Linked DNA regions of Homo sapiens: region 1 is linked to region 2. The links are contacts of gene promoters, found by promoter capture Hi-C in blood cells and fetal thymus (Javierre and others, 2016). All regions are on one chromosome and are shown on one strand. The core of a region is centred on a gene start or on the middle of the fragment in contact, and the rest is flanking DNA. Distances in the headings are between cores, read along the strand shown.

What was found. Contacts are between HindIII fragments. The CHiCAGO score rates a contact against its expected background, and 5 or more counts as called.
Region 1: a fragment that was not itself captured here is called in contact with the fragment with the promoter of FAM135A in region 2 in 2 of 17 cell types (monocytes and activated CD4 T cells); the score reaches 5.2 in monocytes.

What each region holds. Positions count from the first base shown.
Region 1 is chr6:70,848,025-70,854,718 of GRCh38, forward strand. It overlaps SMAP1 (small ArfGAP 1), which reads left to right. Exons shown (of 11, transcript NM_001044305.3): 8 at 4,516-4,640. Among named protein-coding and RNA genes, the nearest start is that of B3GAT2, 110 kb to the right of the region's middle. The HindIII fragment of the contact is 3,251 bases long and covers 1-3,236 here.
Region 2 is chr6:70,409,437-70,415,468 of GRCh38, forward strand. It overlaps FAM135A (family with sequence similarity 135 member A), which reads left to right and starts at 4,072. Exons shown (of 22, transcript NM_001162529.3): 1 at 4,072-4,266; 2 at 5,855-5,940. It overlaps FAM135A-AS1 (FAM135A antisense RNA 1), which reads right to left and starts at 4,522. Exons shown (of 2, transcript NR_147708.1): 1 at 4,401-4,522; 2 at 3,392-3,626. RefSeq lists silencers at 3,879-4,098, 4,439-4,588. The HindIII fragment of the contact is 2,225 bases long and covers 3,102-5,326 here.

The DNA.
Region 1 (6,694 bases), core at 361-2,860, 440 kb after region 2:
AAATGTTAAAGTTATTTATCTGAATAACTGTTTTCAGCATCTTGGTATTTTCTTGATTTTGTGGCCTCTGAGCTTTTATTAATCAGCAAAGACCATGTTATTAGTGGGCCCATGATCAAAAGGATGCATTTAACTCCCAATAATTTGTGAATATTCTTAGTTGACCAAGGCCTGATTATATCCCACAGTTGCTTCCAGGAGCCCAGTTTGCTCACTGATGACCATATCCACCTGAATCCCTCCCTAAAAACTGAAAAGATACTGGTGTCAGTACAGGATAGTGGAGTGGGGACATGATGAGGAAAATTTTGAGTGTGGCACCAAATGATTTTTAGACTGTTTAAGTAACTGCTTCTCAAACTTAGTACAAATAATTATAAACTATTTTAAAGTTGTTTTTTAATTTTCAGAACTTTAAGTGATTTGTTTATAATTAGGCGCAGTTGAAATTACATGGCTTTTGATGAAATGTGGTTTAAAGAGCTCTAGTCTAGATGTGAGAAGACTCTGTTCTGGTACAAATTTTGCTGCTTAAAAAGGTGAAGGACATTGAGGAAGTCTTTTCATTGCTCTGTGTCCTAGTTGGTATAACTGGAGATAATGGAGGAGATGCCCTTCTCATCTTGCATCGGGACAAAAATGATAACATGTAAACATTCTTTAAAAACATCCAGGATGAATGTGATGTTTATAATGATGGTAATGATAACGAGTCTTTAATTGTCTTTTTTAAACACTGAAAATTAAAAACACAATGACCTTCAAAATGAATTGAAGCAATCCCTTTTAAATAATGTGTTAAGCAAGCCAAATGTTGTAAGTAAAATTAGCAACTATTGAAAACCCACTGGGAACTTGTGTTTACCAATTTTGCAAGGCTGAGAAGTTTTCATTTAGGTTAAGAATTTGTTTTTTCAACAATTCTGTGAATGCATAGCTTTGATAGTAACTAGAAAAATTGATGGCTGTGAAATCCAGAACCCACCGTTAAGGGATCAATCACATGGGGAGAAGATGGAGTAGAGACAAAAGAGGGGCAGGTATGTTGCAGATGGTGAGAGCAGAGAGCAATCACCTATGCTCATCACAAGGATGCTCTGTAGAGAAAAATCTTGGTGAGGCCTGGCAGAAAGTTCCTTACCTCAGGTTTTTGGGGGGGTATGAAAAAGTCTTCCTTAATCAATTGAAAACAGTGTCAGCCTTGCCACAAAGATTGCTGTCCCTAAGCAGGTGCTTCCTCTGTCTCATTCTAAAAAGGATTCTGAAGTCCCTCAGACTTACTTTGTGAATTGACTTCATGACAGCTCCATTAACCATGGTGGCTGGTTACAGAGAGATCACAACTTTGTTGTTTGTGTGAAATGCCAGAAATTTCAAGAGGCTAATTTTAATATAGTAATAATAATAAAAAAAACACATGGAAAGAGAATATGGACTTGTTTATAGTGCAGTGGTAAAAACAGAATTCAAGTTATGTTGCAGTGAAGGGACATGAGCTGTGTAGACTTTATTTAGAGGAATGTTCTGCTTTTATGGTGAAAATCTGGAAACTACCTAAATTCTCTTGAGTCACACATTGAATAAATAAATTATTATAGGCACATGCAGTATCACAGAATGCAAATCCCCTACCTACACATACATAATTTTATATAAAGAAGACTATTTTTGTATGATCCTATATACATTGTTTTTAAACTTGTGGTAAAACACACATAAAATTTACCATTTTAAATATTTTACAATGTATAATCAGTGACATTAAGTACACTCACATTGCACAACTGTCACCACCATCTATGGTGGGTACTTTTAGTTTCTTCATTTTTGCATGGTTTGAATCTTTTACAAGAATGTGTTGCTTTTACAGTAAACATTGAATAAGATTACAATCTAAGACTTTGCTCCTGCTCTGTGACACTGGACAAGTTATTAGTCACATATGTGATACTAAAGGGGGTTAAAGGTAAAATAAGACTTCAGAAACCAAGTAATATGCTGTGTGTTGTTTTACGGATTAGAAAATGTATTGCTAGATACCAAATGTGGTTTAGATTTGAAAGTATAAGTAAATATTCTGAGAGGAGTCTAAGGTACTAAGTAGAACAGACTTAAAATTTCGGAAAGCTGTACAGTTTATAAAAGTAATAAGACATAGCATTGGTTTTTAGTGGATGCGCTTTGTGATTCTCACTAAATGCATCCTGGGCACACTGGTGTTCTGTGAACTAGACTGACATGTGCTGTGGTAAAAAGCAATTGATAGTATTTTCTCAGTTTGCCAAAAAATCAACGGGATTTTCTCATGTTAAATTTTTTTTTCCATAAATTTGTCTGATTTTGTTAACTACTACTTAATAAAGTAAAAACAACTATAACGGAAAAACTGGAAATAGTTGCTTATATTCAGCTTGTCACCGTTTTTTTTCCTTTTATTTTGGTTGCAGTTTACATTGTTTTAGAGGACATGTGCTTCTATTTGAGTTTAAATTTTATAAACATTTAAAATTTGTACATATATAAGTATATATACATTTTATATATATAATTATATTTGCAGCTAATAAAGTGCTTCCTCAATTCATGTGATAGAATGAAACATGTCTAATTGATGACGATGTTTGCCCATCTCTAACTCTGTAGCTCATGAGTTAAATCACCACTGGCTTATATGTCATTATTATTGGACTTCCTTTACTGAAGTGTAGATACAAACAAAAAAGATATTCCTTAGTTGTGTTTTTAAACCTAGAATGCCTTGTCCCTTTAAAATATCACTTTATTTCTGGCTGATATTTATAATGTACTATACATCATGTAAATGGGGTATGGAATGAACTGGAAAACAAAGTAGCGCTTTAAGGAGGTCTAACTTTAAAGTGAATATTGCCATTTGAAAGGGTTAGAAATGAAAAAAAGTATTTTCATGTATGAGTCTTAATTCTTTGATAGTTGTCTCAGTTTAAAATTCTATATATTGTAAATTATAATCTATGTACATTGTTTTATTTCTTCACCTTTTAATTGTCCATAGTACTTGATATAGATATGTATAATACATATCAATATATTTCTTTTAATGGTTGTGATAATGTGATATCACTGAAAATGACTTGAAAAATTTGCAGTTGAATAACTTTCAGATTAACCTAATTTGGGCTTTACACACTCTTTTGTAAATTAAATAGCAAAAAATATTTTATCGTGACTATGTGTTAATAATTCTTTGTAATTGAAGCTTAAACAGGGAAATAAAAGATACCAATTTCTCTAGTTGTACTTGGAAAAAGACAAGAACTCTCTAAGTTTCTGTGGATTGTGGTGGAAATATGAATGAGATGGTAGATCCTCCATTGAATTTGTCAGTATTTGAGTATCTACTTTGTGCAAGATACCCCATTCATTGTTGAAAAGGTTTTCAAAGATGACAGATTTCCCTTTGATGAGAGTATGGTCTACCAAAGAGATATCAAATGAGACTGTAAATTGTTAAGATAGAAGGTTAATTAGGCTATAACTCTCAAGAGGCTGGAGTTGTGATGCTCTGAACTGTTAACTTGGTTGTGGTTACAGAAAACTGAACCTTGTGAGATGTTCCAGTCCTGGAGTGCTGTGCATGCAAACTCGACCTATAGCACTCCACTTCATCTCCTGCCCCCAGCCCTTATAAATGTTCACTAACATAAAAAGGGGATATAAAATAAACCGGTTTTGAATTCTTGAAATTACAGTTTTAAAAACTGTTTTTTAATTTGAATTTTTAAGTAGGAAGCTCTGTCAGAGTCCCTTTCCCTGTACATTGCAGTGGCTTGGTACAGCCATCACTAAAAGTGGCTGTGCTGGAATAAATAAAGGACTTATTTTGGAGTTTTATGGATGCTTCCTGTAGAATCAGTTTAAGTATTGTATGTGTGTTTTGTTTTTTCTATCTAGTTTTCTTCCATGTTGTGACTTCAAAACATAACATTTCAGATGTTTTAGATCATCAAAACTTATTTCCATGGTAGGTAAAAATGATATTATCTCCAAAACACACACACCCTCACACATACATTTATGGAGAGGGATTATTAATAAGTGTGGTATCAAATTCCACCTTAGCCCCTTATCTCAAAAGTAGTTTTTACCTCATAAGGTTATGAGGATTAAATGAGTTGATACATGTGAAGTACCCAGAACAGTGCCTGGCATATAGGAAGCACCATAAAAATCTATGATCTTATTAAAAAAAATTAGGGTGCAAAATAATGTGAATAGTATGATACCATTGGTTAAAAAGGAGGTTTGGATATATACCTAGAAACCAGTGGATAAAGAATATTTCTGGGGGAATCAACAAAACTGGAAATGGTTTCTTTGGGAAAGGGGATCGGGGGTAGGTAGAAGGAGAACAAATGTTTTACCAACTTTTGAACTGTTCTTTTTTTTTAACCATATATCAATTTTTAAAATAATGCCATGTTTCAAGTAATTTAAGATATTCTACGTTAAGACGAGAATCTATATTCTTTTCAGATGGCCCTGCTGTGGCACCAGTGACCAACGGGAACACAACGGTGCCACCCCTGAACGATGATCTGGACATCTTTGGACCGATGATTTCTAATCCCTTACCTGCAACTGTCATGCCCCCAGCTCAGGTATGTGATAAGAATATGGTTTTATATGGTCACTGCTTATTTCCTTTTTGAAAAGTTTCAAAATTTCAATTTTGGAAGAATTGTTTCTGAGCAGTAACTGATTTAAAAGTCTCCTGTTCTTTAGGCTAGAGTTTAGCAAACTAAGCCAGCAGCTTGTTTTTGCAAATAAAGTTTTATTGGCACACAGCCACTCCCACTGGTTTAGGTACTGTATGTGGCTGCTTTCCTGCTACAAAAGCAGAGTTAAATATTAAAAACAGAGAATGTATAGCCCACAAAACCTAAAATATTCACTGTCTTTAAAGTTCTAACCCTTGCTTTAGGGAAACAACAGTATTTAGAATGAACAAGTGGAAAAACCCTGACTACCTCAACTTTCCTGAGATCAACAAGGTCACTTACTTCAGAGCTTTTAAAACTGTGGCTGTTTGTAAATATTGACTGCAGAAGTTCTAGCAAATTTAGTACTGTCTTTTTAAAATAAAGGCAAAATGAAGGTAAATTATGTTTTAAGTTAGCCTTAAAATCTACCTTGCTTTTTTTTTTAAGTGATTTTTTAAAAATCTAGAACAGTAATAATAATGATCGGGATATTTTAATAAAAGTATTAATGGTGAAGAAATTTTGAATTGCCTTCTTAACATTACATGGAATTTTTGTAATGTGAACTGTATGAACTTTCAGGAAACAAACTACTCTTAAGCATACAACATTAAGATTCTATCTTAAGTTTATACTTTACAAATAAACAAGCAGTTTGTGCAGCATAATTTTTGAGATAAAATATTTCCTTTTCCATAGAAAAACTGAGTCAAATCTGAATTGTTCTGGTAGACAGTTTTAATAAGAAAAAGTCAATGTCTTATAAGGCTAGGAACATATTTCTGTTGCACATATTTATTGTTATTATGATAGTCATTATATAGTTACCATTAGAATGGAACAAGTAGATTTCTTAGGAATGATTAAATGGATCTTTATCAAAATTGTCTGCAGCAGTAGTGTTTATTTTCAGCAAAATAGCTTATTTTATGGCTTTGCCCCTTCTTCCCCTCCTGTAACACACATAAAAAAGAGAATATTGTTACTGTTATTTCAATTAAGATTAATTACCTTACAAATTGGTACAGGCATAGGTGTACATGTGACAAAATTGTCTAATATTGTGTCTTTGGAAAGAAGCATTTAGGATATTTGACAACCAGAATGTGAAAAGCCATTTATTTTTAGTCTAGCATTGTAGTGCGGCTGTTATACCTGCTAGACTTATTTAGCACTGTCACTGGGGTCTGACAGTTGCTTTGCAACTGCTTAAGAGAGTTAGATCCCACCTCTGAGGTTTCAGTGTACTTCACGTGTTCTGTTCTGTATTAAAGCAGCAAGTAGAACAATGCAGACTTCGTTTAATTCTTAAGCACAAGTAGTGCCATGACAAGGAGTGTAGCCTCTGGCTTTAAGAGGGGTGGCAGCTGGCCTTCAGACTTTAGGCATTCTGAGCATTACCTGGTAGGACATAGGGTTAATTTTTAAAATCATATCTAATACTTCTTTTGGAACACTGTTATGTTGAGCACTGGTTAGACTGTACAAGTTATGTTGAGCCCTGTAAAATATTTGGTGAACAGTAGTATCTTTCGTCTAAACTTCATGTAGAGATTAAAATCCAGACATATTTGGCCAGGTATGGTGGTTCATGCCTGTAATCCCAGCACTTTGGGAGGCTGAGGTGGGTGGATCACCTGAGGCCAGGAGTTCAACACCAGCCTGGCCAACATGGTGAAACCCCATCTCTCCTTAAAATACAAAAATTAGCTGGGCGTGGTGGCGTGCGCCTGTAATCCCAGTTACTCGGGAGGCTGAGGCAGGAGAATTGCTTGAACCCGGGAGGCAGAGGTTGCAGTGAGCGGAGATCACGCCATTGCACTCCAGCCTGGGGGACAAGAGTGAGACTTCGTCTGGAAAAAAAAAAAAATCCAGACATATTTTCAAAATAATGCCTTTGAAAATGGGGGATGGTGCTGAAACTACAGATTCTATGCATATATTGCTACCAT
Region 2 (6,032 bases), core at 2,822-5,321:
AGTAGACGCTATGGACTACTAGAGGAGGAATGGAGGCAGTGGAGTGTGGGTTGAAAAACTACTTGCTGGGTACTATGCTCACTATCTGGGTACAATATACCCCTGTAACAAATCTGAACATACACCTTCTATATCTAAAATAGAAGTCGAAATTAAAATGTGTGTGTGTGTGTGTATATATATACACACGTATATATATATGTATATATATGTGTATATATATGTGTGTATGTACATATATATATAGTTGTGGAATAACTTTGACTATATCTCATTTTTAATTTTCAAATAATGACCATACTTACAACAGGAATATTTTAAAAATCATAAAGCCCAGTAAGGAAAAAGCCAGCTTAATTTTTTTTTTTAGTAAATTAATGTTTAGCATCTGACAAATATGAGACATCCTTCATGAGGCTATTTTCTTTTTCTTTCTTTCTTTTGTTTTTTTTTGAGATGCAGTCTTGCTCTGCCGCCCAGGCTGGAGTGCAGTGGTGCAATCTCGGCTCACTGCAACCTCTGCCTCCAGGATTCCAGTGATTCTCCTGCCTCAGCCTCCCAAGCAGCTGCGATTACAGGCACTCACCACCACGCCTGGCTAATTTTTGTGTTTTTGGTAGAGACAGGGTTTCACTATGTTGGCCAGGCTGGTGTCGAACTCCTAACCTCGTGATCCACCCGCCTAGGCCTCCCAAAGTGCTGGGATTACAGGCATGAGCCACTGCGCCCGGCCTTCATGAGGCTGTTTTCAAATTTACAATATTCATTTCTTCTACTGTCTCAATCTTTAGCTGAACCAATGTTGTGCAACCGAGAAAGGGAGAGATAACCTGATCTTTGGATTAAGAGAATACTCCACAGTTAGAAGGGTTTAGCAAACATTCAAAAACACTCCATGCCAAAGTTAAATTATGTAAACCAATTACAAGATAGAAAGGATTCCAAATCTTATATTCCTTGAGCACAACATAGATTGAAAAGGACACATATATAACATAAAATGTTAATGTACATTAAATGTGACACAAAACTGTTTATTAGCAGCATAATGGGTGACACCAAACTTGGGAAGATAAATATGGGAAGTAAATTTAGAATCAGGAAATTTCTAGACAAATTTCTAAAGGAATTCAAAGTCTATATAATGTGATTATCTTCTTATATTTGAGAGAAAACAGACCTAGAGAAGATAAGAGACTCTCAAGATAACACAGTATACTGTAGACTCTAGAATTAGAACCAGGTAATCTGACAATTAGATCAGTATGCTATACTCTCTAGTAGTCTGTACCTCAGTAGATGCCATAAATTTTCGTATTTCTTATTGTTTTTGTTGTTGTTGTTGCTGTTCGTTTTGGTTTTTTTTGCGATGGAGTCTCACTCTGTCACCCAGGCTGGAATGCAGTGGCACGATCTCGGCTCACTGCAACCTCCACCTCCCAGGTTCGAGTGATTCCCATGCCTCAGCCTCTGGAGTAGCTGGGATTACAGGCGCCTGCCACCACGCCCGGCAATTTTTTTATTTTTAGTAGAGATGGGGTTTCTCTACTAAACCCAGGCTGGTCTCAAATTCCTGACCTCAAGTGATCTGCCTGCCTCGGCTTCCCAAAATGCCGGGATTACAGGAGTGAGCCACCCCAGGTGAATTTTCTTATTTCTTTAAGAGATTATTTTATATTCTTCTATCAATAGATAATTACCAGGAAGTCCTGCTAAATCTCTAGGTTAGTTAAGTGCTCCTCTTCTGGGTTCCCAGACAACCCCGTACCTACCCCAATTTTAACTCTGTAGCAGAACTTGTTTTTTTTTTGTTTTTACATGCCTGTCTACCCCTGCTAGATTGCAAACTCTGAGATTTTAGACTGACCCTTAACTTTCATTATATCCCTCAGTAACTAGCACAGTATTTGGCAAATATCTAATAAGCTATATATATATATATAATGGTTGAACTGATTTGACTTTTTTTGAAGGCTCACCATGATCCTTGTCAACTTCTCCAGCCTCACATCCCTAAACAGTGGCATAGAAGTCTTAGTTTTAGTTCAGCACAAAGACCAGTTTCTTACTGTACAGCTTCTGTTCAAGCAATCCTTTTCCCTTTACTCCTCCCAACCGCCACCACAAGACATCCCACTTCAACTCTCTGGAATCATTTTCTCCTGGAAGTTTTTCCTGACCCATGACCTCTTCCCAAAGTTGGATTAATGCTTCTTCTGAGCTTCAATAGCTCTCTGTGCATTTATCTCTGCACTATACACATTACATCATAGGGTAATAATGCAAACACTCCACCCAAGTTCTTTTTCATTCATGTTGGTATCTTCCAAGATTAGCACACTGCCTGGCACACAGCAGATGAGTTAACAATGTGATTTGAATAAAAAGAACGTGGAACAGGGAAAGAATCTTGGCACACTGTGTGTTTTAGGGATGCACGGACGTGGAAATGCAAATAATTGGTTGTTTACTATATTTTCCTAAGACATGGCTGGAACTAAAAAAAAAACAGAAAAAGCCTTTCCAATTTTGAGGCTAAAGTTCAAGTCACAAAACAAGCAATAAAAGCCTGTTTAGCAAGGATAGTAAAATGGTATAGGGCTATAAAAGAAGGGACAAATTAGAAATCAGGAAAGCAGGCCATTCATACAAATGCAAATAAATTGGTTCACAGGATAAGAGGACACCCAATCATGTAAAAACTGGTACAAGCCAGGCACGGTGTCTTAGGCCTGTAATCCCAGCACTTTGGAAGGCCAAGGCGGGTGGATCACCTAAGGTCAGGAGTTCGAAACCAGCCTGACCAATATGGTGAGACCACGTCTCTACTAACAATACAAAAAGTAGTCAGGCGTGGTGGTGTGCGCCTGTAGTCCCAGCTACTAGGGAGGCTGAGACAGGAGAATTGCTTGAACTCCGGAGGCAGAGGTTGCAGTGAGCCGAGATCACATTACTGCACTCCCGCCTGGGCGACGGAGCAATGCTCTGTCTCACACACACACTCGAAAAAAAAAAAAACTGGTACAAAGATATATTCAAAACCTGTCCCCTAAATGGCCTACGTTACAAGACCTCACCATTACTTTCAAATGAATGCACAAAGCTTTTCCCTTCTAATTCATTCTTATTGTGGTAAAATATACATAACAGAAAATTTACCATTTTAACCATTTTTAAGTGCACAGTTCAGTAGCATTATGTCCATTCATTGTTGTGCAACCAACACCACTATCCATCCTAGATTCATTTTTAAAACAAGAGTCGCAGCTGAAATTTTCCTTTCATTAACTCAGCTTTAGCAACATACTGAACTTTATGCACCACAAAAGTTTTTGCCAGATAAGGTTCAGAAACAGGGAAGAGTGAAATAAATCAATGATCCTTCGTGGGCTTCTGTTAACGGAATGTATTAGCGAAAGGCTTCACTTCATCAGCCCCCTCCCGCCCTTTTTGGCGTCATAAACCAAGAAACAACCAGATCAGCACCCACATCTCCCAAGATGCAAACACTGGGTCCCGAAAGGCATCTGTCCTGCCCCGGCGCAGATCCCCTGCAGCCTCCTTTCCTACTGCACAAATCGACTAGCGCAGGGACCGGGCTCTCTACCCGGGACTGCACGGAGGAGCTAAAGAGAGAAAAGGAGAAACAACATTGTGAGAAAAACGGCTAAAGTTCTCGAACTCCGTGTTTTTGCCCTCTTCTTGTTCACTACTCTTCAACCACCTCCAAGTTCCATCCCTTAAACCCACAAGCGAGCCCCTTTTCTTGACGCGCGCCTTTTATTGACGCAAACCTCCCGTTCTCGCGGGAACTTGGGAACGGGAGCCTGGTAGGGAGGACAAATCTCTCGAAATCTCAGTTGGCGCTGGAGCTGGAGGGGCAGTTGAAGCTCCTGAAGGGCGGGGCACGGAGCTTGAAGGGGCGGGGCCTAGCCTCAGAGAGGGGAGGGAAGAGGCGGGAGGAGGAGGTGAGAGAGGCCGGGGGCGGGGCCGTGCGGCCGGGGACCTGTTGATCGCAGGTATAGCCGGCTGGCCCGGGCTCCCTCGGGACTGGGGCGACTGCGCATGCTCGCTGGCCGCGCTGGGCCAGTAGCCGAGCCGCGGTGACGAACCGGCTCCGCGGTTGCGGTGTTTGCGGTTGCTGTGATGGCGATGTGAGGGGGCCCGGGGCGGGATGGTGCTGACCCGGGTCGGGCCGTCTTCTTGCAGCTGGACAACGAGCTCCTCCGTTCGACAGGCGGGGGAAGAGGCCGAGCCGGGCGAGAGGTAACCCCCTTACTGTCCCCTCTGGCTCCCCCGGCTCCCGACACCCACGACCCCTCCCTCCGTCCCTCTTGCCCAGGGGCCAGGAAGGAAGCGGCCTCCTCTTCGTCCGCCGTTCGCCCGCCGCGGCCCCTCACCCGACTGCTGGCGGTCGGAGCCTGGCCCCGGCCCCGTTGAAGGTCGGTGGGGACGGCGGTGCGGAGCGCTCTGAGGGAGGCGAGGGGCCGCGGCGCGCTGCTCTCCCGGTGCCCGCGGCCGCCCCTGCCCCTGCGCGCGTCCCTCGACCCGTTCTTCCTGAACCTCGCGCCTAGCGTGTTTGCCCTTCACCCCTGCTCCATCTTCGTCGCTCTGTCCCTCCTTTACCCGCTTTCGTGGTTCTGCTTTTTCATCCCGCGCCTCCCACGTGTCTTTTTGCCCGGGTGGTCCCTCCTTGGGAAGCAGCGTATCTCTGTGCTTCCATCCCTTGCCTGGCTCTTCCCTGTCCGGAGCTCCTTACCCTGGCCGACCAGGTTTCTCACTCTTGTTACCTCCATAATTTCTTCCTTGGTTTTATTTTCCTCTCATCCACCTCCTTTCGGTACTTCCTCCTGGTTCCCTTTTTGTTAGTTGCCGATTGTGTTTTGCTTTAGCATCGCTTTGCATTGGAGTTCATTCCATGCCCCATCTTAGCTTCGGAAACCCTCACTGCCTTCTCTTTCCTCTGGTACCCTGCTTCATCGCTTTCTGTCTAATGGCCCCTATCCTCACGTCCTTTTCCATTCTGCACCCAGTGAGTCTCTAATCTTAATTTTTTCCCCTCCAAAACTCTTCCACCCTCCCCCCCCCATTTGTATAAGTCAAGCCTCTTAACTTCATTCCATTTGTTTTACTTTTTATTAAATCTCTGAAGACTTCTTTGTGACATACCCTTCTAGTCCTTGCTGCTTTCTGCCTAAGCTAGGTATCCACTCAATGTTTCTAGTTCATCTTCCAGTTTAATAACATTTCTTCTTTCTTTACCGGTTGGTGGAAGTATCATCAAAAGAGTGACAGTAGCAACAAATCGGTTACACTTACTGATTAAAGCTTTAATTTTTAAGAATTATGTTTACCTGGCATGCCTGGGAAAGCAACTTGAGTACAGACTAAATGAAACTATAATGGGTTAAGACTTGTTAAAGGTTGACCTACAAACATACACTTAAAATTTGGAAATTTTCTTGTCCTCCATTAGGTGTAGCTGTCCAAGAACTAATCTTAAATGAAATTTAACAGAATTTCTTTTTTAAAATGTATTATTAATTTGTTTTATACATTTGCTATTGCAATTGATTGCATAATTTTCCTGAGAGTCTCTGTTCTCTAATAAATGCATACAATTTCTGCTACCTTTAGAATTAGTGTGCTTATAGGAGACATACGTGAGAAGTATTAAATTTTTTAATTGAGCAGAAGAACTTTCTAAACGGTTTTGTAATTTTTTTCCTCCATTGCATTGTGATCAAGATTTGGCTTAAATAAAACTTCTCTTTCCATAAATAATGGTATAGTATCTTATTTTGAAGGCATCTGCTGAAGCAATTATGTTTAGTGAAGTTTGTCTTTATTGTAGGGTTGAAGATCAACTGGATTATGTATTTGGTTCTGGAATCTCAAAGCAGTCCACAAACAAATTCTTCCTTATGTTGTCTGTGTCAGGTAGGAATTAAGTTTTCTGTTTCTGTTTTAAGAAGGGAAATACCAAGGCAAAAAAAAAAGTGTAGTTCCTTATTCAAAGTGATTTAAAGTAA